Regions from separate parts of the Homo sapiens genome. Here region 1 is linked to region 2. Evidence: promoter capture Hi-C in human tissues and cell types (Jung and others, 2019). All regions are on one chromosome and are shown on one strand. The core of a region is centred on a gene start or on the middle of the fragment in contact, and the rest is flanking DNA. Distances in the headings are between cores, read along the strand shown.

Region 1 (2,845 bases), core at 15-2,514, 470 kb before region 2:
AACCCAGGCACAGAAAGACAAATATTGCATGATCTCACTTATATGTGGAATCTTAAAAAGTCAAACTCTTCCAGGACATAGGCATGGGCAAGGACTTCATGTCTAAAACACCAAAAGCAATGGCAACAAAAGCCAAAATTGACAAATGGGATCTCATTAAACTAAAGAGCTTCTGCACAGCAAAAGAAACTACCATCAGAGTGAATCAGGCAACCTACAAAATGGGAGAAAATTTTCACAACCTACTCATCTGACAAAGGGCTAATATCCAGAATCTACAATGAACTCAAACAAGTTTACAAGAAAAAAACAAACAACCCCATCAAAAAGTGGGTGAAGGACATGAACAGACACTTCTCAAAAGAAGACATTTATGCAGCCAAAGAACACATGAAAAAATGCTCACCATTACTGGCTATCAGAGAAATGAAAATCAAAACCACAATGAGATACCATCTCACACCAGTTAGAATGGAAATCATTAAAAAGTCAGGAGACAACAGGTGCTGGAGAGGATGTAGAGAAATAGGAACACTTTTACACTGTTGGTGGGACCGTAAACTAGTTCAACCATTGTGGAAGTCAGTGTGGTGATTCCTCAGGGATCTAGAACTAGAAATACCATTTGACCCAGCCATCCCATTACTGGGTATATACCCAAAGGACTATAAATCATGCTGCTATAAAGATACATGCACACGTATGTTTATTGTGGCACTATTCACAATAGCAAAGACTTGGAACCAACCTGAATGTCCAACAATGATAGACTGGATTAATAAAATGTGGCACATATACACCATGGAATACTATGCAGCCATAAAAAATGATGAGTTCATGTCCTTTGTAGGGACATGGATGAAATTGGAAATCATCATTCTCAGTAAACTATCACAAGAACAAAAAACCAAACACCACATATTCTCACTCATAGGTGGGAATTGAACAATGAGAACACATGGACACAGGAAGGGGAACATCACACTTTGGGGACTGTTGTGGGGTAGGGGGAGGGGAGAGGGATAGCATTAGGAGATATACCTAATGCTAAACGACGAGTTAATGGGTGCAGCACACCAGCATGGCACATGTGTACATATGTTACTAACCTGCATATTGTGCACATGTACCCTAAAAGTTAAAGTATAATAATAATAAAATCAAATCAAATTAAATTTTAAAAAGTCAAACTCATGGCCGGGAGCGGTGTCTCACGCCTGCAATCCCAGCACTTTGGGAGGCGGAGTCGGGCGGATCACGAGGTCAGGAGCTAACACGGGGAAACCACGTCTCTACTAAAAATACAAAAAATTAGCCAGGCATGGTGGCAGGTGCCTGTAGTCCCAGCTACTCGGCAGGCTGAGGCAGGAGAATAGCTTGAACCCGGGAGGCGGAGCTTGCAGTGAGCCAAGATCGCGCTACTGCACTCCAGCTTGGGGGAGACAGAGTGAGACTCCGTCTCAAAAAAAAAAAAAGTCAAACTCATAGAAGCAGAGAGTAGAATAGTGGATGCCAGGGGCTGTGGAATGGCAGGAGGGGAGAAGATGGAGAGATAGTGGTCAAAGGGTACAAAGTTCAGTTAAGATCAATAGGTAGTTCTGGAAATCTAATACACAGCATAGTAACTAAAGTTAATAATGTACTTGAAAATTGCTGAAAGAGTAAATCTTAAATGTACTCACCACGAAGTATGACAAATATGTGAGGTGATAGATATGTTAATTCGCCAACCATTTCACAATGTATACATATATCAAAACATCACATTGGACACCATAAATATATAGTTTTTTGTCAATTATACCTTATTAAAGCTGGAGAATAATGAATAGATTTATTATTTTGAGATAATTTTAGATTCACTTGCAGTTGTAAAAAAAAATAATAACACAGAGGAACCCAATGTGCCCATTACAGTTTCTCCCAATGATAACATCTGTCTGTTTAACCATTCAGCCACTGAAGGACAGGTCCTCTAGGTTTATCCACGTAGTCACAAATGGCAGGGTTTTCTTTTTTAAGACTGAATAACATTTTGTAAAAAATATATTCATCCATCCATCCATGAACATTAGGTTAATTCCATTTGTGACTACTGTAAATAGCGCTGCAGGGAACATGGGAGTGCAGATATCTCTTGGACTTACCGATTTCATGTGTAAGCTGTGTTCCAGTTTGGGCTATTTCAAATAAAGGTGCTATAAATATTTGTGTACATGTGTCTGTATAAATGTAAGTCTTCATTTATCTTGGATAAAACGCCCAAAACTACAATTACTTCGTTGAATAGTAATTCTGTGTTTAATTCTTTTTGGAAACTCAAATTGTTTTCCAGAGTGGCATACCACTTTACATTCCTACCAGCAATGTATAAATGCTTCATTTTCTCTGCATCCTGTCCAGCATGTTATATTTTCACTATTTTTAATTTTAGTTATTCTGATAAGTGTGTGGTGATAGCTCATTGCGGTTTTAACTTGCATTTCTCTAAAAGCTAATGTTGTTCAGCATCTTTCCATGTGTTTATTTTCTGTCTGTATATCCACTTGGATGAAATATTTATGTCTTTTTCTTATTTTCTAATTAAACTGTTTGGGTTTTTTTTTGTTTTTTTTTTTTACTGTTGAATTATCAGAGTTCCTTGTATATTTGAAATACTAGCCTTTTCTTGAATATGTGGTTTGCAAACGTTTTTAGCTCATCTCCTCTACTTGATAGGGTCTTCCACAGAGCAAAAGTTTTTATTGATAAAGTCCAATTTATCAATTCTCCTTTTATGAATTATGCTTTTGGTCTTCCATCTAAGAACTCTTTGTAGCTCTAGATCCTGGAGGTTTTCTCCTAT
Region 2 (2,700 bases), core at 111-2,610:
TCCTAGAAAACTTGCTACCTTGAGATTACCTTTCTATTTCTCCTTGCATTCCTGCAAACACCTAAACCTCTGTAGACAAGAGGTTCATCTCAGAGTCTGAACTGGCTGAGGATCATAAAATTCTGTCAAATACCTGGTCAATTAAGTTCTGGCTGGAAGAGGGGGTCAAATTAGATGACTGACATGTGCGGATAAGGGCACTGGTTTATTTCACATTTTAGCCTTTAATGTGGGTGGGTACACAAAGCCACAGAGTTTGTTGCCATACCCCAACATAAAAGCCTCTGGGACAAGGTTGAAAGGGTAGCGGGGAGAGGGCCTTGGATAGCGGATGGGGTGGTTAACCCGCGACTCTGGTGACATTTTGCCATCAGCCGCTGGTGACATCTTGCCATCAGCTGCAGCTACAGAATGTTGCTCGCAGGAGGAATTTGGCCTGCCGTTGAAGATGTGTTTCTCAGATGAGACTGTAAGGGGCCGGAGCTTGGGATTTTAGGAGTGCAGGGCCCACCTCTTCCTTGGTATCAAGCCACTTAACTAAACTCTTGCGGTGTCTTATGACCAGGGACGAAGTGCGGGGCCCCTTCAGACGTCGCAGCTGGAGTAACTGTTTTCTTTCCATTTCACAGCTCTTGAAGGAGGTGTGACTGAGTGAGGCGCTGGAAAGCTTGTTCTATAATTACTTCTTGATCCGCTTCTAGGCGTGCTGTGCATGCGTCCGACCATGTGTGTTTGCGTTAGCTTGCGCCGTCGACAAGAGCCAGAGAACGTGGGTCTAGGATAAAACGTGGATGATATTTTTGCTTCAAATGTCACATTTTACGGGGGTCTAAAGGTCTTAGGCTGGAGTCTTTGCGGATGATTGCCAACTGTAGCTGAATCTATGAGCTGGGATGTACCCAAGCCAGTGCAATCGCTCCAAATCAGGGCGGGCGGCACTAAGCCGGGGAGCAAACACCGCTCCCGGCCCGCCCAGAGCAGACGCCCTAGGTTGGGGCTGCAGCGAGTGCGCGCGTGGGCTGTGGAGCCGGCGGAGGCAGCGGTCCGGAATGGCTCTGTGGAGGCTGCGCTCTCTTCCTGGCCCCGCAGCCACAGCAGCTGCCCCATGCTCGCGCGGCAGGACCTACCAGGCGCCCACCCTGGGCTGCGCCGCCTCGGACCACCCGCTGCTCCCCTCCGCCCGCTGCCTCTTCTCCCCGCGCCTCACGGGGCTCCGCACTGACTCCAGGCGCCTCCGGGGGCGTCGCGCGCGCGGAGCGGCGCCGGGGGCGGGGCCTCGTGTAGGGCGCCCCGGGATTGGCTGTGGGGAGAGGGGGCGGGGCCGGCCGCGGAGAAAACAGCCGGCGCGCCGCGCGAGTGCAGTCTGGGTCTGGAGCCTGAGCCCTGCGGAACCTCGGCGCTCGGCCCCACCCCGCCCGTACCTGCACTTATTTATTGTTGTTATTTCTTACCGCGGAGCCCCGCAGTCGGGTCCTCCCGCCCGCTCCCGCGCAGCGCTAGCATTCTCCAGTCCCTCAGTCCCTTCCCGCGCGGTGCGCCGCAGCCGAGGCGATGCGCCTCATTCAGAACATGTGCACCATCGCCGAGTACCCCGCGCCGGGCAACGCCGCGGCCTCCGACTGCTGTGTGGGCGCCGCCGGCCGCCGCCTGGTCAAGATCGCCGTGGTGGGCGCCAGCGGCGTGGGCAAGACCGGTGAGTCGTCGCGCTTAGCCCTGGGTCTGGTCTTGGACGACCCCTGACGGGAGTTGAGGCTGAACAAGGCGTGGGGAGCGGTGGGAGCTGCAGCCCGACCGCTCTCCGTCCCCGCGCAGGGAGCCGCTGCCCCTTGGGAGTGGGCTTAGCCGTTGTCTACGCCACCCGCCTGCTTCCACAGACGGGGGAAACAAGGATCAAGAATGGCCAGGCAGCTTTCTGGGGACCACCGGCACCGCCGCCATCAGAACTTTGGGGTGTTTGAGCCTCTGGCAATGCCTGGCACAGAAAGGGGAGTTAGTGAAGCTAGCCCCCCTGGGAGGTCTTGAAGGTTAGGAAGACATGGGTCTACTGGAAGGCTTAGGTGTGGCTCAGCCGGGCTCAGAGGAGGGGGTGGGCCCAGTGAGCCTTCCAGCTGCACAGAGCCATAATTCACGATGCCTTCTAGCCCCCTCCTTTTTGTCTGGAAAGAAGGGTCAAGGAGCTACAGGGTAGGAATTTCACTTGGTGGCCATCTATGGCTTTCTTTGGGAGAACTGTTTTCCAGGCAGGGGGTGGGGTGGAGAACAATCTAACTTCCAAGGTTAACACTTTGACGTTCTTTTTTCTGACGTGCAGCACTGGTGGTCCGGTTCCTCACCAAACGATTCATCGGTGACTATGAAAGAAATGCAGGTGAGACAATGCATTTGAGAAAAATTCTGTCCCATTGCAGGAGGACTGCGGTTCCCATTTTCCAGCGCTTCCCAGGGAGGTTCTTTCAGTGACAGTCCGAGCCTGAGGATCCCGCCACTTAAAACTTTCCCCAGTCCCCAGCCCTCCATGGCGCCCCCCTCCCATAACTACCATCTGGCCTCATTCCATTCCAAGCCCATTCATCATTTTATCAAGTGCCTGAAAGTATTCCCCTTGGTATGTTTTAACTATAGTGACCCCAGTTGGAAGCACCCTTTGTAGTCAAGAACCTCTCCCTTCAAAACACTCCTGCAAAAGTCGTAAAAAAAAAA

What was found. The method cuts DNA at HindIII sites, captures the fragments that hold promoters and counts their contacts. A contact is called where the count stands out against the background at its distance.
Region 1: a fragment that was not itself captured here is called in contact with the fragment with the promoter of RASL11B in region 2 in 3 of the 25 tissues and cell types used here (IMR-90 fibroblasts, liver and mesenchymal stem cells).

The regions. Positions count from the first base shown.
Region 1 is chr4:52,394,129-52,396,973 of GRCh38, forward strand. No RefSeq gene overlaps it. Among named protein-coding and RNA genes, the nearest start is that of USP46, 260 kb to the right of the region's middle. The HindIII fragment of the contact is 4,012 bases long and covers 1-2,845 here.
Region 2 is chr4:52,860,957-52,863,656 of GRCh38, forward strand. It overlaps RASL11B (RAS like family 11 member B), which reads left to right and starts at 1,361. Exons shown (of 4, transcript NM_023940.3): 1 at 1,361-1,693; 2 at 2,312-2,368. The coding sequence starts at 1,552. It overlaps LOC124900700 (a long non-coding RNA gene), which reads right to left and starts at 1,249. Exons shown (of 2, transcript XR_007058115.1): 1 at 1,128-1,249; 2 at 193-775. RefSeq lists silencers at 925-1,414, 1,386-1,680. The HindIII fragment of the contact is 6,378 bases long and covers 1-2,700 here.